Regions from separate parts of the Homo sapiens genome. Here all the other regions are linked to region 4. The links are contacts of gene promoters, found by promoter capture Hi-C in blood cells and fetal thymus (Javierre and others, 2016). All regions are on one chromosome and are shown on one strand. Each heading gives the region's core, a stretch centred on a gene start or on the middle of the fragment in contact. The rest is flanking DNA. Distances are from core to core; before and after follow the strand shown.

Evidence for each region. Contacts are between HindIII fragments. The CHiCAGO score rates a contact against its expected background, and 5 or more counts as called.
Region 1: a contact is called between a fragment that was not itself captured here and the fragment with the promoter of KRT7 in region 4, in 1 of 17 cell types (fetal thymus). The highest score is 5.7, in fetal thymus.
Region 2: a fragment that was not itself captured here is called in contact with the fragment with the promoter of KRT7 in region 4 in 3 of 17 cell types (M2 macrophages, M0 macrophages and naive CD4 T cells); the score reaches 6.9 in M2 macrophages.
Region 3: a contact is called between a fragment that was not itself captured here and the fragment with the promoter of KRT7 in region 4, in 1 of 17 cell types (endothelial precursors). The highest score is 6.2, in endothelial precursors.
Region 5: a contact is called between a fragment that was not itself captured here and the fragment with the promoter of KRT7 in region 4, in 2 of 17 cell types (endothelial precursors and M2 macrophages). The highest score is 6.3, in endothelial precursors.
Region 6: a contact is called between a fragment that was not itself captured here and the fragment with the promoter of KRT7 in region 4, in 1 of 17 cell types (M2 macrophages). The highest score is 5.6, in M2 macrophages.
Region 7: a fragment that was not itself captured here is called in contact with the fragment with the promoter of KRT7 in region 4 in 1 of 17 cell types (M1 macrophages); the score reaches 6.5 in M1 macrophages.

What each region holds. Positions count from the first base shown.
Region 1 is chr12:52,820,078-52,823,049 of GRCh38, reverse strand. KRT79 (keratin 79) reads left to right here. Exons shown (of 9, transcript NM_175834.3): 7 at 1-34; 8 at 671-705; 9 at 973-1,642. The coding sequence ends at 1,178. Among named protein-coding and RNA genes, the nearest start is that of KRT4, 7.4 kb to the right of the region's middle. The HindIII fragment of the contact is 2,485 bases long and covers 302-2,786 here.
Region 2 is chr12:52,967,201-52,970,025 of GRCh38, reverse strand. No RefSeq gene overlaps it. Among named protein-coding and RNA genes, the nearest start is that of KRT18, 19 kb to the right of the region's middle. The HindIII fragment of the contact is 7,174 bases long and covers 1-2,825 here.
Region 3 is chr12:52,868,351-52,871,334 of GRCh38, reverse strand. No RefSeq gene overlaps it. Among named protein-coding and RNA genes, the nearest start is that of KRT78, 21 kb to the right of the region's middle. RefSeq lists enhancers at 747-796, 300-800, 801-1,301 and a silencer at 907-986. The HindIII fragment of the contact is 4,084 bases long and covers 1-2,984 here.
Region 4 is chr12:52,231,773-52,234,693 of GRCh38, reverse strand. KRT7 (keratin 7) reads right to left here and starts at 1,451. Exons shown (of 9, transcript NM_005556.4): 1 at 1,074-1,451. The coding sequence starts at 1,397. It also overlaps the pseudogene TMT1AP1. RefSeq lists an enhancer at 1-865. The HindIII fragment of the contact is 10,919 bases long and covers 1-2,921 here.
Region 5 is chr12:52,944,298-52,947,336 of GRCh38, reverse strand. It overlaps a transcript of KRT8 not described here. Among named protein-coding and RNA genes, the nearest start is that of KRT18, 3.3 kb to the left of the region's middle. RefSeq lists a silencer at 1-252 and enhancers at 1,203-1,798, 2,988-3,039. The HindIII fragment of the contact is 1,627 bases long and covers 758-2,384 here.
Region 6 is chr12:52,987,933-52,990,900 of GRCh38, reverse strand. No RefSeq gene overlaps it. Among named protein-coding and RNA genes, the nearest start is that of EIF4B, 17 kb to the left of the region's middle. The HindIII fragment of the contact is 7,088 bases long and covers 1-2,968 here.
Region 7 is chr12:52,913,443-52,916,623 of GRCh38, reverse strand. It overlaps a transcript of KRT8 not described here. Among named protein-coding and RNA genes, the nearest start is that of KRT8, 10 kb to the right of the region's middle. The HindIII fragment of the contact is 8,808 bases long and covers 1-3,181 here.

The DNA.
Region 1 (2,972 bases), core at 295-2,794, 590 kb before region 4:
CCTACCGCAAGCTTCTGGAGAGCGAGGAGAGCAGGTGGTGGCCCCTCCTGCCCGACCCAGAAAGCTGGGTCGGGCCTGCCCTGGGGGAGAGCCCAGGGAGTCTGCTCCGGGGTCAAGAGAGGGAGAGAGGAACCAGGGAGCAAGATCCTGACTCACGCGGGGGGAAAATCTGCTTGTGCCCACTGCCTCCATCACTCCTCTCCTTGGTTGGCACAACTCTTGTTAATCTTTACTGTGGCTGACAGCCCGGTAGGAATGGAACTTCCTCTTCCACCAGCAGATTTCACCAGCAGTGGAAGCTTTGGAAAAAAAAATCCACCATCTCTGTCCTTAGGAAAAGCATGAAATAGAAAGTGGGCAGAAACTAGGCAGCTCTGTCTGGTCGTGGGCTTGTTTCCATTGGGGCAGGGATGCTGTCCGTAGCCCACATGGGCAGAGAGGAAAGAAAAGGGGAGGATGGGAGTTGGCACAGCCTACTGGTGGCTCTGCCCTTTCTGCAGCACTGGCTTTTGGACCTGGGCACAGCCCTATACACATACTTCTCATGTTTCCTGGTCTTGTCATCAGGATTCACTGAGTGGATCCAATGTAAAGGCAGAGGGAAGGAGAGGGTTTTCATGTGGGCACCAGGGATAACTGACTGCTCTCCTGGCCTTTCTGTGTCCCCTAGGATGTCTGGAGAATGTCCCAGTGCAGTCAGCATTTGTGAGTATTTACTCCCCACTTCCTGCTCCACCCCTGGCCAGGCCCCAGAACTCTGCTCAGTTTATGCAACCTGTACCTGTCCTAAAGCATGCTCTCCTCCATTCGAGCCCCTGGAGACAGGTTCAGAGGGTCCTAGTTCTGGGCTTCTCTATCCATTTCCCATAGCTCTGCTGCTTGATTTTGTTCTGATTCCCCACTGATTTCTGGGTCTCCCCCAGCCCTCTCTGGCATGGCCGCCCTGACTAATCCAGACCCTTTGCTTTGCAGCTGTGACTGGCAACTCCACCACTGTGTGCGGAGGTGGCGCAGCCAGCTTTGGAGGTGGCATCTCCCTGGGTGGGAGTGGGGGGGCCACCAAGGGTGGATTCAGCACAAATGTGGGCTATAGCACCGTCAAGGGAGGGCCAGTCTCTGCGGGCACCTCCATCCTGCGGAAGACCACTACGGTCAAGACGTCCAGCCAGAGGTATTAGCTGCTGAGCCCTGCAAGGGCCCCTGCAATCCTGTCCCTGCCCTCCTCACCCCACCTCTGCTGTCCTTTCCAGTCACTTCTCAGGAGCAGGAACAGCCAGGGGACCTCAGACCCAGGGTATTTTCATACCAGACTATTTGCATCTTGGGAAGCGCTCAAATCTACTCAGGTTTTCTCCTTGGTCCTGCAGTAGGATGGGAGGGAAGGTTAAAGTTGCCAGCTTGAGTGATGTGCTTGGGTGACTTGGGGGTGACCTTTTGACCACCGAGAGGAGGCTGAATTTCTCAAGCCATTAGGAGAGAGAGAAATTGGGAGTGGTCCCCAAAGACCCTTCAACCTCCCCAGTCCCCCACCAGACCCACCCTCTCCCTGAATCTACCCACATCCCCCTTCCCTGTCTGTGTCTCAATAAATGGTGCAACTGCAGCTAGCTGTCTGTGGCTGCAGTCTGTCCTGCCTGGGGAACTGAAATTGTGTCCATTGATTAACATCCTGATGCCTGACACAGCAATAATCACACACTCACCACATCCCAATCGCCATGCTTACTTAGGTACATTAGTTTGATACCATCGCCACTCCAGGGCTGTACATGGCTCACAAGAGGAGACCAAGGCTCAGAGGGAATATGTAAGCTGCTCAAGGCCAGACCTGGCTAAGTGGCTGCCTATTAACCAGCCACCCCTGGTGCCTGTTCAGCCTCCCACTAACTCTGTAGGGGCAGACAGCATGCTTTGTTCAGTGGAGAGGTCTTAGGCTTCAGAACTAGGCAACTTGGGTTTAAATCCAAGTTCTGCCACTTACTAGCTGTATGACCTCGGTCAAGTTACCTAACCTCTCTGAGCCTTAGTTTCCTCCTTTGTAAAAGTGGGTTGTGATAAGAACATGTGTAAAGCATCTGGCTTATAGAGGCCCTTTCAGGAATCAGGTTTCTTTGCTTTCCCACTCCCTGACTTCTGGATTCCCAGCTTATCCTCTTGGCCTCAGTGATGTCTCTCTCAGCCCCCACATCCAGTCGGCAAGAAAAATCCACACTTAATTGGGTTTTGTGGTTTACACATACATTACTTTGCCTGTGACCATCACCACAGCCCTAGGTTCAGTAGTGGGCATGTGGTGTTCCAGTTTACAGGTGAGGCGATTCACGCTCACAGAAGTGACCTCTCATGCTGTAGTCATCCAGCTGGCTGGAGGTGGGTCAGTAGTGTCCAGGGCTGCAATTTCAAGCCCTCTGTCCTGTCACCCCAGAAGCTACCTCCGTCCTACTCCTGCCTCCATCACTCGCCAAATCTTACTGCTCCTCCCTCCATGCGTCTCTTGGTATCACCTTCTTTCCTCTTCATCTCCACAGTTCTCTACTTTGAGTCTGGACCCCACTCCTCAAGCTGTACCCAAGTGATTCCCCAATTGGCTGGCCTCTCAACCCTGCACCTCTCAGGCCCTCCCCACCCTGCTACCAAACCAGTTGGCCCGACCCGAGGCTGTCACCACTCCGCTCCCTTCCTTGGCAACCTTAGGGCTCCTGGCAGTTGCTGGGATGCATCCCACACTCTTCCGGCCTGATCACTCTGTCCTCCTCAGAGGAGCCCCGAAGAGCCCTGAGAAAGCTTCCTCCAGGGCTGTGGAAGGCCAGCAGAGGGATTTTCAGCCAAACCCTAACCTCCAGCTTAGGAACACAAAGGCCTAGCGGTTTAGGGTCAGCTCTGCCTCACCAGCTTGGGTGGTCTCTAGCTTCCCTTCTCAGACAGATGGAGTATAGTCCACCCCATGTACAACACTTTGAGGAATACTTGCT
Region 2 (2,825 bases), core at 215-2,714, 740 kb before region 4:
TTGGAATGTAGGAGTGACCCCAGAGGAGGATTACAAAGCCCTTCTTCAAAGGAGAGGTTGAAAGTGGTGCCCGGGTTCTATAAACATTTGCACTGAGCATTCCTAAATGACAGGGAGATTTATAGTTTGAGTGCCTTCCCATTACGAAGACTGTTTAAGTGACTTGGGAAAGTTTCTTTAAAAAGAAAAAAAAATGGAGCAGATTAAGATGAGATTTTATTTTTCTTTTTTTCCTTAAAAAGAAAAAAAGGCTAGGCGAGGTGGCTCATGTCTGTAATCCAAAGGCTAGGTGAGGTGGCTCATGTCTGTAATCCCAGAACTTTGGGAGGCCGAGGTAGGTGGATCATTTGAGGTCAGGCGTTTGAGACCAGCTTGGCCAACGTGGTGAAATCCTTGTCTCTACTAAAAATACGAAAATTAGCTGGGCGTGGTGGTGCACACCTGTAATCCCAGCTACTGGAGAGGCTGAGGCGGGAGAATCGCTTGAATCTGGGAGGTGGAGGTTGCAGTGAGCTGAGAAGCCGAGACCACGCCACTACACTCCAGCCTGGGTGACAGAGTAAGACTCCGTCTCAAAAAAAAAAAAAAAAACAAATTCTTCCTGGGCTTTCTTAAAGCTGGGGTGTGTGTGAAGCGAAGCTGAGGAAGTTCAATTGTTCTCCCACTAAGTTCTCTTTCCTGGAACAAAGAGGACCTGCAAAGAGAGTGAGAGGACTGCTGGCATCTTGAAATATTCTTCTACTCTCCTTTGTCCTCTTTTCCTTGGGTGAGGCATGCAGAGACTCCTCTTGGTTTGTTATTTGCTCATTTATTTGTTCATTCATTTGCTTATTCATTCAAAAGCTAGTAAGAGAAGATTGTTAAATTTGAAAATTTTGCTTCCCAGAATTAAACCATTTTAAATCAACCATGACAGCAGTATTTATACCTTGGATATTGGCAAATGCTATAGGTTATTAAATAAAATAAAATAACATTTTATTTACAATTTAATAAAAATTACAATTTCAAATTTTTGTCTTTAAAAAAGAAAATAACAACCTGCTGTTTATGTGTTGGAATTGTGTTATGTATCAGGGCATAAGAGTGAACAAGATAGTCCAGTCTCTGCTCAAAGGGAGCTTACAGTCTGGTGCTGCACTGTCCTGTCCAATCTGGTAGCCATTAGCTACTAGCTACTGCTGTGGTTATTAATTTATTTTTTAAAGTTTTTAATTTTGGCTGAGTCTGGTGGCTCATGCCTGTAATCCCAGCGCTTTGGGAGGCCGAGGCAGGTGGATCACCTGAGGTTAGGAGTTCGAGACCAGTCTGGCCAACATGGCGAAACCCCGTCTCTACTCCAAATCCAAAAAAAAAAAAAAAAAAAAAAAATTAGCCAGGTGTGGTGGTGGGCGCCTGTAATCCCAACTACTCGGAAGACTGAGGCAGGAGAATCACTTGAACCTGGGAGGCGGAGGTTGCAGTGAGCCGAGATTGAGCCAGTGCACTCCAGCCTGGGCAACAAGAGTGAAACTCTGTCTCAAAAAAAAAAAAGTTTTTAATTTTTGTGGGTACCCAGTATGTGTATCTATTTTAGGGTACACGAGATATTTTGATACAGGCATACAATGCATAATAATCTCATCAGGGCATCCATCACTTCAAGCATTTATCCTTTATGTTACAAACAATCCAATTATACTCTTTTAGTTATTTTTAAATGTACAATAATTTATTTTTTTTGAGACGGAGTCTTGCTCCATTGCCCAGGCTGGAGTGCAATGGCATGATCTTGGCTCACTGCAACCTCTGCCTCTCGGGTTCAAGCAATTCCCCTGCCTCAGCCTCCCGAGTAGCTGGGATTACAGGCATGCACCACCATGCCTGGCTAATTTTTGTATTTTTAGTAGAGACGGGGTTTTACCATGTTGGTCAGGCACGTCTTGAACTCCTGTCCTTGTGATCTGCCCGCCTCAGCCTTCCAAAGTGCTGGGATTACAGGCATGAGCCACTGCACCCAGCCTTAGGCTGGTGCTTTTTAAACTTTTTTTGCTTCTGGGGAGTGGGTGATAGGGAAAGTTCTGCCAGCCTGGGAGGGGCCCACTAGAGCCTGCTGCTCCAGTGTGGATTGTGGGGAGAGGAAAAGGAACTGTGTGCTTTGGGCCCAGATCACTGGAGTGCCCTGAGTCTCTGAGAAGTTTACCCTACATCCCTCCTGTGGCAGCACCATCCACTTCACCAGGATCTGACCAGGGCCTTCAGGGGGACACAGCCTCCCCGGATCTGAGCATCACTATCATTCTAATTCCTTGGGCTGTTTCTGTGTAGATAATTATTTTCCAGCTCATTCAGGCAGGTGAGGTTGAGGCCAGCAGTGCAGCTAAATCCTTACACCGTGACTGGGGCTGCTTTTATACAGGTTAGGGGAAGAATAATCACTTATGGCTGAAATCTAATGGAAGAGGGAGTTCTGTGTAACTCTAGTGGGCAGAGCTGAGTTTAGAAGGTTAGTAGGAGGCAGATTTCAGCCCAGTAGAAGGAACAATAATGTTCCAGTAATTATACAATTATTATCCAACAGGGGCTATACTGTCATAAATTCTTCAAACGGAGGCCAGATGTTAGGAAGGCCACAAAGAGGATTCCTACTGGGAGAGGCCAAACTTGAACCATCTGTTTATTTATTTTATTTTATTTATTTATTTTTTTGAGAATGGAGTTTCACTCTTGTCACCCAGGCTGGAGTGCAATGGCACAAACTTGGCTCACTGCAACCTCCGCCTCCCGGGTTCAGGTGATTCTTTTGCCTCAGCCTCCCAAGTAGCTAGGATTACAGGCATGCACCA
Region 3 (2,984 bases), core at 379-2,878, 640 kb before region 4:
TTTTTCCCCTTAGTCAAATGTTGCAGTCGCTGCATTTCCTCTGCTGTTTCCCTCCCGGCTGAACTGGACAGGCAGAACTGCCTCTGGGTGGGAAGGGAACTAGGTGTCTCCCAGTGGGCCCCAAGTAACGCCACTATGGTGGGGATTCCCTCCCTGGCCTGACCTCAATCCCGCCAGCTGCAGTCTATTCCCACCGATGTTGTCCTCTGTGGATGGGACCCCAGCTGGAGAAACCTTGGTGGGTCCACCTTCAGTACAGGCTATGTGAGGTTCTCTCCAGTCCCTCACAATCCTCTCTGTTCCCTAAATTCTTCCCCAGTTAAAATCACAATCCCTTCCAGTGCTGGGTGGCAGGATGGGGCTGTGGCACCCAGGGTAGGCACTGGTGCAGGTCCAGTGGTATCTGGATGGTGTTGCTGATGGCCTGGAGCCCCCAGATATTCCTGCTTTGATGCTTGGTACAACCCACATTGACCCCCTTTGTTTTAGCTAATTGGGGCAGCTGTGAGTTTCTGGATTCTATCTGGCCCAGGTCGGTGGACTGCCTTCAGACTCCAGGGTGCCAGGGAGCATAGGGCGTGTTGGAGGTAAAAGGGCCAGGCTGGTGCCGCCCTGGGAGCTGGGGGGAGCCCGAGCTCACCTCTCCGCCTCCTCCCTCCATTCTAGGATTGCCCTGCAGGGGTCGCCCTAAGCCAGGCTTCCAGGCGGCCAAAGCACCCACCCTTTTCAGACTCCGGGTCCTCCCTCAGGCTCCTTGACCCCCAGACTCGGGGTTCTCTTCTCTCTGTGGGGTCCCCTCAGCCCTTGGGAATCCAGGAAGTGACATGAGGAAGGGACAGAGACAATGTGTGACCCAGAGGCTCTGAAGCGACAGGAGTGACAAGTGTCAGAGCACATGCAAATGACATGCAAATGAGCCTGGCCAGTGCCAGAGGGTGTCTGGGCCCAGGCACTGTCTCCAGCAGCCCTGCAATTGTCTGCCTCTTCTCTACCTGTCTGTGTGCGTTAGGGTCCGTTTCTCTGCCCCTCCCCACAAGTAACCAACTGCGCCAGGCATGTGCTAAGTACTTGGAAACCTCAATTGTCACTATAACCCATGGCAGGGACCATTATCCTCATTTTTTCATATGGTTTCTGTATGGCTCCCATGGGGTTGGATTAGTGTTTCCCAGTCTTCCTGCCCCCTACAAATTAATAGGTGTTTAGTGAGTCTGAAAATAATGTAACGGGGGCCCCACCCCCACCACCTAGAGAGCAGAGTTCCTCTGAGAGGTCCCAGAGAATGGGGACTCTGGGCTGTGGTTTGGCACAAAAAGACTGGGGCAGAGGGTCAAATGTGGGAGGGGGATCTAGAGAAGACATTTTGACTATTTCCCAGCTTCCATGGGGCCACCTATCCCTGCCTGACCAGGGTCCCTGGACCTAGTCCTTCTGTATATTGACTTTGTCCTTTCAGAGATGGCTGTAGTCACCTAACTTCAGTCCCCTTTGTGGCAGCACCAGCCTATTACCCTGTGGTGGGTCAGGCTTGCCAAGAAACTTTTAAAGGGGGTTTGATGTAGTTCTGTGCCTCCCTCTTGCAAAAGGCCTTCATGAGGCCTGGGGGCTTCAAGTGACACTTTTCCCCTCTCCTTTCCGGAATAGAGCTCCAGAGACCTGGAAGGGGCTGTGGGGAACTGACGCCCTGCTCCTCCTTGCATTTGACACTGCTTCTTCCTGGCACTTAGCAGGGCCTGGGGAAGCTGGGATGGGGCTGGGGGTGGTGGCCTTAGGTGAGGTTTGCTCTGTCTCCTCCTCAAAGTGATGTGCTCCAGCCCCAGCTGGCACTTTCATTCCAGTTTCCTCCTCGCACATTCTTCATTTCCCCTCCCCTGCTGTCTCTGCTGCTTTCCGCACCTTCCCTGCTCCCTGCCCATCTCCTGTCTCCTGAATCTCCAGCCAGGTGCCCCTCTTCTCTGTTCCCCCTCTGGGAACCTTCTTGGCTGGTCACTCTGGAGTCCCACTGAGTTTCTCTTCCCTGGAGACCCTTGGGGCTTGAGCACTCCTCTCTGTGGCTGGGAATGAGGTGGCTCCAGGAATGAAACCCTGGCACGTTCCAGAGTTTGGAGGCTCTTGGTTGCTCAGGAAGCTCCCAGCATGTACACTCCTTGGGGTCTGAGGCCCCTGGCCCACCACTGGCTTTGAGGCAAATGGCCCAGGCCTCCCTGGGGCAGTGACAGCACAGGGAAGTAGGCACTTGGGCTCAGCCACAGGCCTCCTTTCCACCATCTCTGCACCCTATTCCCTCCCACACTGCATGCAACCATGCGCCTGCCCTCTCAATCAGGTGGCACAGAGGCCTGGCCCCCCTCCTCATCCCTTCTTTCACTTAACAATCTCTCTCCCTTTCTTCCCGAGGCCCCTTACACTCCCCTTCACTGGAGCCTTCACCAGCTGCCCAGCCCATGGCTCTGCTAGTTGCCCCATCTGGCCTGAGTGCATTCTCTCTTTGGATTCCTCCATCCCCTCTGGTGGAGGGGTGGCTATTCCAGCTGGAGAACAGACAGATGCAGGCATAGACCTGAGAAATGCTTTACAGATAGTCCTGGGTTCAGATTCTCACTCTGCCACTATTGGTTGTGTGATCTAGGACAACCAAGCCTCAGTTTCCCCATCTATAATATGCGATTAATCAGAGGTATGCTATGTAAAGCACCTGGCATGTAGTAGTTGAACATTAAGTGATAATTCTACTTCTTTTTTTTTTTTTTTTTTTTTTGAGACAGGGTCTCCCTCAGTCTCCCAGGCTGAGTGCAGTGCAGTGGTGCGATCATGGCTTACTGCAGCCTCAAACACTTGGGTTCAAGTGATCCTCCTGCCTCAGCCTTCCAAGTAGCTAGGACTATAGGCATGAGTCACTACATCCAGCAAATTTCCTTTTTTTTTTTTTTTTGTAGAGACGTGGGGGTCTCACTTTGTTGCCCAGGCTGGTCTTGAATGCCTGG
Region 4 (2,921 bases), core at 202-2,701:
CCTGGAGCCCACAAAGGCCCTTAAGGAGTAGCCGGTATGACTGGAGGTGGGAGGCAATAGAGGCCTCTGCAAAACCAGCAGCTCAGGGCCCCAGGCCCTGGGGACCACAGAGAGTAAGACGGTGCAGCTCAACACATGGGGGAACCTGGGCCTGGAGCAGCTTGGGGAGGCCCCTATGAAATCTAAAAGACCGGTCTGGGTGAATGGCGAAGGAAAGGAGAACGTGAGGGAGGCGGGTGTGGGAGTACACTTCGTCTAAGCTGAGGAAGGGGGCCCTGGCCAGAACAGCCCAGCAGGGCCAGCCCTGAGTTCCTGGCTTTGGCAGCACTCCTCCCAAACCCACCAGTCAAGTCTGCCCTCGCCCCCTCCAGCGGCCCCATGTGTGGCGGAGGCCAACAGCCAGGAAAAATATCTCCAAAATGGACCCCTTTTTGAGGGCCCTCTCTGCCACTCCCTGCCCCCAACTGGGCTGTCTTCAAGGGCAGGTATAACCTCTCCTCCTGCCACCTAAGGGAGGCTGGAGGACCAGGCAGGTGGGGGAGGGGAGGGGCGGGAGCCCCCCCCCCTCCCCCGCCCCACCGACTGCCGCTCTAATCTCCAGCATCTGCATCCGCATCAGCATCTGAGAGAGCCTGGGTCTCCCCCTCTGGGAAGGGCGTGCCATCCAACTCCATTCCTGACTCCACACGGTCCTCTCTCAGGGAAAGGGTCCCAGAGAGAGAACTCCTGGCCTAGGCCTCTGGAACTCCTAGTCCGAGGCAAAACTGGTCCAGGTGACCAACAGGCAGCCAGCGAGGGCAGCCCTACAGGACTCAGGCCCGCACTCCGGGAGGAAAGGGAGGGGCAGCTGGGCAGCTTGCTGGAAGGGAGGGCTTGGAAACCGAGGGGATAAAATAGCCACGGGGTTCATGCGAAGGAGGAAGGACCCCCAGATCGTGTCCCCAACACTGGCGGAAAGACAGAAGGGCGGCAGTGCTCCCCAGCGCCTGGCCCGCGCGCAGGCAGGGCTAGTTAGGGCGGCTGGTGTGGTCTGGAGCGCGGCTCGAGGAGAGGCGAGGTCCAGTCCCGCTCACCTTGTCGATGAAGGAGGCAAACTTGTTGTTGAGGGTCTTGATCTGCTCGCTCTCCTCCTGGCGCACCCGCTGGAGGGAGGGGTCGGCGTCCAGCCGCAGCGGGGCCAGCAGGCTCTGGTTAATGGTGACCTCGCGGATGCCGGCGCCCACCGGGCCCCCATAGGCAGAGCGCACGGCCACGCGCGGCCGTGAGGCGCCGAGGCCGTAGAGGCTGCTGCTGCCAAGGCCGCCGGGGCGAGCGGAGCTCAGGCGCACCTGGGCGCCGCGGCCCGAGAAGGCGGCTGAGCGCGAGGTGAATACCGGGGAGCTGAAGTGGATGGACATGGTGGCTGGGCCGGGATGGACCTAGCGGCGGGCGAGGAGGAGCGCGCACTCGCTGACCTCGGGGACACTCCGCGCCTTTTATCCGCGGGAGCGGGCGGCTGGGCTTCCACAGGTAGGGGCGGGGCTGCCGCGGGCCACCTTTCTCTGCTGCCAGGCCCCTCCTGGGGCCGCCCTCCGCCCTCTGCCCGCCCGCCCCGCCGAAGCCCAGGCTTTCAGTCCAAGCAGGGATGGTCCGGAGTAGGCAGGAGCGCCATCCCTAGACGGCCGCAGAGAACAGCGGGGGACCGCAGTTCCAGCCCATTGGAAACGGACTCAGTGAGGGAAGGCTTCCCGGAGGAGGATGCTTGGAGAGGGAGTGAAGAACCTAGAGATCCCTGAGGCCCAAGCAGAGAGACCCAGTGGCAAGAGACTGGGGGAAGGGGTGGGCTGAAAAGTTCCAACCCAGGAGTCAACGCCCAGACGTCCCCATCCTCCAGGCTGCTGAAGCCAGAAAGGCATTCCTTACCGCTCTCCCTCACACCGATCCAGCTCCTCCTTGAGAGATCAGCTCACTTGTTCAGGGGTCTGACCCCTCCTGGCCCAGCTAGTTTCCCTGGCTGCGTTCCTTCCTACTTCATTTCCCATAGAAACTAGGCTGAGAGAGACACACGACCGACCGCACCTCTGGCTCCTCCCCTCCCCACTCCAGTAGGCATCGGAATCCCAGGGACCTTGGGAATGCTTACCCTGGACCCTCACCTCCCGGACCCTCCACTCATATTCCTGCCCATTTATTTTATGCGTCCCTGTACAGGAAGGGGACACTTGTGTGTATTTGTGACACTTTGTGGATGTGTGGACACTTTGTGGATGTGTGCACACGCCTGCAGGCCTCTGGGCTCTGCTGTGCTCACACCCCCAGGCATATGCACCCGCATGTCTGAGCCTGCTTACACAGATGGGGGTCTGTGCGTGCATCCTGGGCGAGGGGGCAGCTGTGGCTACACAATGGCACACATTTTCATGCCTGCCTGAGTGCGTGTGCTTCTGTTAGCACTCAACTCTCCTCCCGCTCCCTCCACCATTTTCCTGTTTAAAGGCCCTCAGCTTTCATCATCTTTCTCCCGTGAAGCCACCACCAAACAATTCCCAGCAGTTTCAAACCCAGTCAAGAGGGGTAATCCTAGTGCTGGAACCGAATACCGGACAAAGCCTGAGTGTTGGCCTCACTTCCCGGTAGGGCCAGCCATGCTTGCCACACCCTGTTCTCAGGCCTGGCTTCCGTCTGCCCTTAGCCCACCTCTAGCCCCTCCCAATAAGCTGGCCAGGTTCGTTACCTCAGACCTAAGCCCTTGGGGGAGACAAGGGTGGGGACGGAATGTCCTTCCTGCTTGGCCATTTCAGTTAAAGCACAAGGACTTCCAGTGAGGCTAAAGACTGTCACTCCTTCTCAGTGATCTTAGTGAAGGCTCACCAGCCTCCCTCCCTGCCTCCCCTCCTGACCCTAGCCATTGGTGTTGGGTCAGCTCAGGCCAGAGGCGGAGG
Region 5 (3,039 bases), core at 322-2,821, 710 kb before region 4:
CCCTGTCCCCCCTTGTAAGGGCTGTCTGGATTAGAAGCCTGGCCCCAGGGGACTGCATCCTCCAAGATGCTCTCCCCAGCCTCTGTGTGAGAAGGATGGAGGTAGGGAGGCTTTCATGCTGCCTGCCCCCTGAAGCTGAATGACCATCCCTGCTGAATGAAGTGTTGGGGGGAACCCTTAGGTGTTTGGCCTTCAAGTTTGTCAGCTCCAGCAGCTCGTTTTTCTGGCAGGGCCTGGTATGACACATTTGGCTGTGTTCTTTGCTCTGGAGTGGACCTATTGATTCTTATCGAGCTACCAGCTGAGGGGGAAGGGGAGGACAAATAGTAGGGCAGACCTGGGAGAGAAGGGACCCTGGAAAAGCCTGGCCAGTGGACCTGCCAGGTGGGAGGCAGAGCACAGATAAAGAGCCTGAGCCTGGATTGTTCCTGATCTGTCACCTAATGGTGGGGAGAGCCCCACAGTGCTCAATGGGAGCCAGCCAGGGGGCAGTCAGGGTGGAAGCTGGCCAGGGGAGGGTCGGGGCCTGCTGAAGGCTGGGAGGCAAACGGGATGCAAAATAACATACAAATGAATGCCCACTGGTTTTGCATACAAGGCTTCTGGGAGGTAAGAGGTTCCAGTCAGAGGGGTCTCTCCTGCTTTCACCTTTATATTCCCCCACTGGATTCCAGAACTGTCAAGTTGGGCAGTATTTTATAATAAAGTATGTGGAGTCAACAAGCTACGTACTGCCTTTTACTGTTATTGCTAAGCTTTAAGTCAGCCAGCCTGGATACTTTGCTAGCTGTGTAACCTTGGGGAAGTCACCTAACTCTGAACTTCAATTTCTTCACTTGTACAGGGAAAACAGTAAGACCTGTCCAGTCTATTTCCTCAGGTGGCAGTGAATGTGAGTGTAAATTGTCACTCACTCATTCATCAAACAAATACTAATTATTTGTACTGGAGCCTTCCTTCAAAGTAAGGAAGGCTTCAATATATACAGGAGGGCAGATAAAGGGGGTCAATTTAATTCGAAAGACGGGCTCAAGGGGTTTGAAGTCTGTCTCTCTGAGTCATTTAAAAACCCTGGGGCACTTTGAAATCTACCAGCAATCAAAACAGATTCTAGAATTTTTCTCCAAGCTAATTCCCAGGTCCTTGTCTGATTCCTGCCCCACCCCAACTGCTAGGAAACTTCTGGGACCTGTGGAGGTGCAGCGTGGGGGCTGGAGAGGGAGAGCTGCCAGCTAGACTTTATCTCTCCTACTGATGTCGATGGCCACATTCCTGACTTCTTGCAGCATGGGGCAAATACCGACCTCGGGCTTCCAGCACCAGCCTGCCCCTTTCCACCACTTCCAGATTCCTCTGTGGCTCAGGGCTTTTTCACTTTGTCAGAGAGCCTCTTGGAGAGCTGGGGTGAAGGTCTCGGCCTCCAGATTCCCAGCACTAGGGTTCTGGGGTGGGGGTGGGAAGCAAGGTGGAAAGGGGGATGGCGTGATTGTGAGGACAGTCCCGGGAAAGGGTGGAGCAGGAGGGGCCCTGGTGAGAAGCTCCCAGAACAGACACAAAGAGTAATGAGCCTCGGCAGGGGGGAATCCGGAAAGAGGGGAAATGGTTCTCCACCCACCATCAGTCCTGCATTCCAGCGTCCAGCAGAAGGGGAGTGGGAACCTGTGAGGCAGGTTTAACTTCAGAGTAGACTCAGAGATGACCCGATAGGGGTGGGTCAGCTCTTACTGCCCACTCCACATTCTCCCACAAAGGGCTTGAGCTGATGGCTCTGGGGAAACTAGGTGGTGGAGAGATGAGAGGATTAGGGAGGATTGGAAGGCCTGCAGTCCTTCCGCCTTTGCTTTAACATTTAGGCTGGAAATTCCTTGCTCAGCCTGGAGGAGGGAGGTGTTCGGAACAGCAACTGAGGTGTAAGGATGGGGTCTATACACAAAACAGGGAGAGACTGATTCCCATCCTCTTCTTTAAAGACTGAGGGTGACTCCAGTGTGTTGGAGACAGTGAGAAGGCCCTGTGGTGGGGTGGGCTGGAGGGAGGAAGGGATCGCCTGGGAGGCTCCCCTGGGCTCCTTTCAGCTACTCTCAGTGGAGGGTATACCCATGCAGGGGGCCCTCCCACAGGAGAAATCCCAGGGCTGCTGAGTTAAGGGTAGAGCTGTTGAGACAGAGGGAGATCTGGGGTAGAACCCAAAGGAAAAGGAATCTGGGGTGGAATGGGAATCCTCCTGCCCAGCCCTGCATCTGGCACATAGGTGGAGCTCCGTAAATACTTTAGGTTTAAGTAATTAATAAACATGGGGTGCTAGGAGAGGTCAGTGGGGGTCATCAGAAAGTGCAGTCAGGTAGACTGCAGAGAGACAAGAGGTGGGGGCAAGGGTACAAGCTTCAGAGGCAGCTGCGGAGCAGGGGGAGGATGCGGGTGGCAGCTGGGTGCAGGACCCAGTCTGATATCAAGACTTCTGGAATTTCAGCACCCTATTTGGAGTCCCTGGCACTGCCTGTGGAGGTGGGAACGGGTTCTCAGGGCTTGGGCCAGGCCCTCTTCCCCAGGGGTGGGAGAGTCGAGGAATGCCCTGACACTTAGTATCATTGCTTCGGTTGGGTTTGTGCCCTAGGGGTTATTTTCCAAGGATAAAGGAAGAGGAAGGGTCAGCGCTGAGAAGCGTGTGGCTGCCCAGAAACCTCCAGGCGCTGAAGCTCAGAGAAGTCGGGGAACCTGGCCCTTCTAGGAGCCCCTCAGCTCCCTGGCCCAGCCCCACCAGGAATGGCCTTGCCTGTGCTTATGTCCTTTGCCCATTCTGACCCTGGTGCTGTTGGCTTCTCCTCAGGTGCAACCCCAGTATCCCAATGCCATATCCCCCAGCCTATCGCCTCACTCAAATCTGCCCAGAGATTAGGGGAGGGCAAAGGGATGAATAGGGCACTTGGTGTCAAAAGACCTGGATTCGGCCAGGTGGCTCATGCCTGTAATCCCAGCACTTTGAGAGGTTGAGGTGGGAGAATCGCTTATGGCCAGGAATTTGAGACCAGCCTGGGCAGT
Region 6 (2,968 bases), core at 355-2,854, 760 kb before region 4:
GGACTGAAGTAGAGGTGAAGGAAGTAGAAATGTGAGAGCAAGGCCTAGTGATATCTGGGGAAGAGTGTTGCAAAGGCAAAGTGTGTTCTTGGCAGGCGAGGACCCTGAGGTGGTGCTTGGCATGTTTGCGGCCCAAGGAGACTGTTGTGGCTGGAACTTGGTGAGCAAGGGAGAAGGTGGTAGGGGTTCCTATCCTTCCCTTCTCCTCCGTCCCCATGAACTCCGCTCTAACTATGACTTTCCTTTCCCCTCTGTGCTGCTTCAGGAATTGTCCCACTTGAGTTCATCTCCGCCCATCCACCTAGCACATAGTTCCTGGATAAATCTCCCTGAAAGAGCGCTCTTACTGTGTCACCACATCTCTTTCCAAGGCCCTACTCTCCAGCATTGAAAGCTCTGCATGAACTGCCCTCAGCTTGCTTTTCCTACTATATCTGTCACCTCAACTTCTGCCTGGCCCGGAGCGGACGCTGGGCTTTTCCATGTTACTCATCATTCTCTTCATCTGGAATGCCTGCTCCCTCTTAGTCTTGCCAAATCCTTTGCAGGAGAAGCCCCTCCTACTTCAAGACATCTTCCCAAGACATCCTGTTGGCCTGGTCTCCCATTTAGTTGTGTATTTGGCTTATTTTATCCAGGTGGTATTTTATACACAGTTTTTTTCCTCTTCTTCAGGGCCTTGTAACATGTAAACCTCATTTCTGTTTTGGTTTTTTTTTGTTGTTTGTTTTTGTGTGTGTGTGTGTGTGTGTTTTTTTTTTGAGACGGAGTCTCGCTCTGTTGCCCAGGCTGAGGTGAAGTGGTGCGACCTTGGCTCACTGCAACCTCCACCTCCTGGGTTCAAGCAATTCTCCTGCCTCAGCCTCCTGAGTAGCTGAGACTACAGGTGTGTACCACCATGCCTGGCTAATTTTTGTATTTCTAGTAGCAATGGGGTTTCGCCATGTTGGTCAGGCTGGTCACAAACTCCTGACCTCAGGTGATCCACTTACCTCGTCCTCCTAAAGTGCTGGGATTACAGGCATGAGCCACCACGTCCAGCAGTTTTTGTTGTTTTTTAGAGTCAGAGTCTTGCTCTGTTGCCCACACTAGGGTGCAGTGGTGCAATCATGGCTTACTGCAACCTTGAACTCCTGGGCTCAAGCAATCCTCCTGCCTCAGCCTCCTGAGTAGCTGGACTACAGGCATGCACCACCACACCCAGTTAACTTCTAAAATTTTTTGTATAGATGGGTGTCTTGCTATGTTGCCCAGGCTGATCTCAAACTCCTGGCCTCAAGTGATCCTTCTGCCTTGGTCTCTCAGAGTGCTGGGATTACAGGTGTGAGCCACTGCACCCAGCCTAAACCTGTTTTTTTAATGTTCTTCTACTTTTTTTTTTTTTTTTGAGACAGAGTCTTGCTCTGTCACTGGGCTGGAGTGCAGTGGTGTGATCTCAGCTCACTGCAACCTCTGCCTCCCGGGTTCAAGCAATTCTCCTGCCTCAGCCTCCTGAGTAGCTGGAACTACAGGCGTGTGCCACCACGCCCAGCTAATTTTTGTATTCTTAGTGGAGATGGGGTTTCACCATGTTGGCCAGGATGGTCTCGATCTCTTGACTTCGTGATCCGCCTGCCTCGGCCTCCCAGAGTGCTGGGATTACAGGCATGAGCCACCACGCCCGGTCGTTTTGTTTATTTTTCTAATGAAGATTTCTGCTTGGGGAGTTCAGGTGGGGCTTTTTCTTGAGTAAATCCAACCACCTCTACCAAAGACTCTGTAGTTCCCACTTCCTGGGTTGGAGATTGTTAGTCAAAGGAGGAACTGGTGAGGACTTTGGCTAGAAATTTCCCACGTGGTATTTCAAAACCAAACCCAATTCTGGACCCAGACAGGAGAGCAGTTTGGGGTTGCTTATTAGGACAGGCTTGTTTGACACTAGCATACTAAAGTTCTCCTTCTTTTCCTTCTTACTTTCCAGTTCAGACTTTTGAATGATGGGGTATGTTTGAGAAGCAACTAAAAACCCAACCTCTGCCCCTTGGGAGTTTATTACAAATTTATAGTTAGTTGTATTTTCTTGGCAGGTATTGATAAGAAAGTAATTCACCTGATTAATGTTTTTATTGTATATCTGTGGATAAATGAGTAATGAATATATAAATAGTGGAGTATTATCTAATAGACAAATCAAAGGTAAATGTAATAGAGGAAGGAGCTATGGATAAACTCATCACAGAGCTGGGTCAAGTTACACTTTCTCCCACCTTGATCTTGTGTCTGTCTTAGTCAGTTCTGCTGTAACAAATTACTATAGACAGGGTGGCTTAAACAACAAACATTTCTTTTTTGTTTTTGAGACGGAGTCTCACTCTGTCGCCCAGGCTGGAGTGCAGTGGCTGGTGCAATCTCGACTCACTGCAACCTCCACTTCCCAGGTTCAAGCAATTCTCCTGCCTCAGCCCTCCGGAGTAGCTGGGACTACAGGGACCCACCACCACACCTGGCTCATTTTTATATTTTTAGACGGGGTTTCACCAGGTTTGCCAGGCTACTCTCGAACTCCTGACCTCAGGTGATCTCAGGTGATCCACTCACCTCGGCCTCCAAAAGTGCTGGGATTACAGGCGTGAGCCACCGCGCCCGGCCAACAACAAACATCTCTTTCTTTCTTTTTTTTTTTCTGAGACACAGTTTCGCTCTTGTCACCCAGGCTGGAGTGCAATGGCATGATCTCAGCTCACTGCAACCTCCGCTTCCTGGGTTCAAGTAATTCTCCTGCCTCAGTCTCCCAAGTAGCTGGGATTACAGGCATGTACCACCATGCTTAGCTAATTTTTGTATTTTTGTATTTTTTTTTGATGGAGTCTCGCTCTGTTGCCCAGGCCGGAGTGCAGTGGCACGATCTTGGCTCACTGCAACCTCCGCCTCCTGGGTTCAAGCGATTCTCCTGCCTCAGCCTCCCGGGTAGCTGGGACTACAGGCACCC
Region 7 (3,181 bases), core at 682-3,181, 680 kb before region 4:
CTCTGGAGCATCTACTCTGGGCCAGTACCCTGCTGGGCAGATGCTGGCACTGAGACAGGAACCAGACACAGACGCTGGAGGAACCTGCTCTGTCTCCAAGGAGCTGTGTCTAAAACTGATTGGATGACACGATGGTAAGCCCAGTGGCTCATGGCAAGTGCATGGAACAGTCTAGCTGGAACAGAAGGTGCTAGGGTTCAGCAGGGAGCTGCTAGAAGTGCAGCTGAGTGACCTTGGACTCACGCCCATGCAGTCAACTGCCACCTCCTGTTGGTTCTAGCTTGAGTCCATCCCTATCTTCCTGCTCCTACCACACTGCAGGCCTCCAGACCTGCTTTCTGCAGTAGCCCCCTTTCTAGTCTCCTGCCCCTAGTTTTTGCCCCTACCATCTATCCTGAACACCCCAGCCAGCTTAATTTTCCTAAAGCACTGCTTTAAGCTCATCATCCTGCTCCTCCCTTCCTGCAGCCTGCAGAAAAAGCTCTGTCTGGCCTCTGAAACCCCTAGTCCCACCCTCCTCCCCAATATCTAGCTTTTCTACTCTTCCATAGGAATCCCGCTCCTGTCCAGTGGCTTATCACATTTCCAGATCTTTCCATCCATATCTTACTTTCCTAAGCTCAGCTTGATCTAAGGGCTCTCTCCTTCCCCTGAAGTCCTATAGCATACATCTGAATCATTTATTTATCTGAAATCAATATTCCGTTGATAAGGTACAGAAGGTAGACTTTGGCCAGGTAGTATTTGTATTTATAGAAGGGCTCGGTGTGTACACGGATATCTTTATACCTGGCTTCTCTGGTTCCACGTCTTTATTGGTGTACATTTTGGTTAGCATATGTAGTGAACATCTGTTGTTTCTGCCTGTCCAGCATTTGTTTATCTTTTCTTTTCTCTTCTTTTTTTTTTGAGACGGAGTCTTGCTCTGTTACCCAGGCTGGGCTGGAGTTCAGTGGTGGGATCTTGGCTCACTGCAGCCTCTGCCTCCTGGGTTCAAGCGATTCTCCTGTCTCAGCCTCCCAAGTAGCTGGGACTACAGGCATGCACCACCATGCTCGGCTGATTTTTTTGTATTTTTAGTACAGATGGGGTTTCACCATGTTGACCAGGCTGGTCTCGACCTCCTGACCTCAGGTGATCCACCCGCCTCAGCCTCCTGAAGTGCTAGGATTACAGGCGTGAGGCATGGTTCCTGGCCCTGTCCAGCATTTCTTCCTGGTCTTTTGGTGAATCACATTTTTTTTTTTTTTGAGATGGAGTCTTGCTCTGTTGCCCAAGCTGGAGTGCAGTGGCGAGATCTCGGCTCACTGCAGGCTCCGTCCCCTGGGGTTCACGCCATTCTCCTGCCTCAGCCTCCTGAGTAGCTGGGACTACAGGTGCCCGCCACCTCGCCCGGCTAATTTTTTGTATCTTTAGTAGAGACGGGGTTTCACTGTGTTAGCCAGGATGGTCTCGATCTCCTGACCTCATGATCCGCCCACCTCTGCCTCCCAAAGAGCTGGGATTACAGGCGTGAGCCACCGCGCCTGGCCCAAATCACATTTTTTTTCCCCTTTCTCTATAGGTTGGGTGGGGCTGATCACCCCTCCACAGGGTCTTGTTATGTGGTCTAGTCTAGTCAACATGATAGTATTCTATTCCCCTGGCCACAGGGATTGGTTCAGAGATGAGCATGTGACCTATATCAGCCTTGGAGAGTCAGCCCTGGAACTTCAGCAGGAAGCATCGGGAAAGAGGTGCTCCCTTAGTGGTCGCCCTTCCTGCAGCAGGGAGATGGCCTGCCCGAGGACGAAGCTAACATGGAGGAAAATAGCCAAAAGACAGGAAGAGAGTCTTGGTCCTGATGATATCACTGAGCCCCTTATCTGGCTAGGCTGAAAGCCAAATGCACCCTTGAACTTCTCAATTATAAGAAATGATCTTTTTATGCTTAAGTCTGTTTGAGTTGGGTTTCAGCCACTTGCAATCAAGAATGTGTATCCTTTGGCTGGGAGCTGGGGCTCACACCTGTAACTTTGGGAGTCACAGCACTTTGGGAGGCCAAGGTGGGAGGATTGCTTGAGGCAAGGATTTTTTGTTTGTTTTTGAGACGGAGTTTCACTGTTGTTGCCCAGGCTGGAGTGCAATGGTATGATCACAGCTCGCTGCAACCTCCACCTCCTGGCTTCGAGCAATTCTCCTGCCTCAGCCTCCTGAGTAGCTGGGGTTACAGGCATGCGCCACCATACTATGCTAATTTTTTGGTATTTTTAGTAAGGACAGTTTCTCCATGTTGGTCAGGCTGGTCTCGAACTCCCAACCTCAGGTGATCCGCCTGCCTCGGCCTCCCAAAGTGCTGGGATTACAGGCGTGAGCCACTGCACCCGGTGGATTTTTTTTTTGTTTTGTTTGTTTTATTTTTGAGACAGAGTCTCGCTCTGTCGCCCAGGCTGGAGTGCAATAGGGCAGTCTTGGCTCACTGCAATCTTTGCCTCCTGGGTTCAAGCGATTCTCCTGCCTCAGCCTCCCGAGTAGCTGGGATTACAGGTGCCTGCCACCATGCCCAGCTAATTTTTATATTATTAGTAGAGACGGGATTTCACCATGTTGGTCAGGCTGGTCTTGATCTCCTGACTTCAGGTAATCAGCTGGCCTTGGCCTCCTAAAGTGCTAGTATTAGAGAGGCATGAGCCACCTCTCTCAGCCTGAGGCCAGGATTTTGAGACCAGCCTGGGCAATATAGTGAAACCTCTGTCTGTATAAAAGAAAAAACAAACAAACCTGTAACCGTGTATTTGAGTTTGGATGTGTGTTATATATGGCTGTGTGTGCACAGGTATGTGTGTGACGTTCGTAGGAAGGTGGTGTGCACGGGACTCTGACGGGTGGTACACGCACATGCTTGTGCCTGAGATGAGGATGTGAGGTGGTACTGCACCTTGGCGTGTGCGTCAGGCCATGCAAGTGAGAGGGCAGGTGGGGTGTGTGTGAACCTGAGAGAGTGTGTGAGGGACAAGAGGGCGTGTGTGCTATAGGCTGAGGTTGTGTGCCCACAGGGTGGGGGGTGGGCCTGTGAGGCTGTTTGTTCTGGGAGATAACCCATCAAACATGTGTGCTTTGTATTTATATGGATACATGCATATAAAGACACGTGCTCAAAAACACCTGCTTATCATCATGCACCTCTGCCCTCCTGAAAATT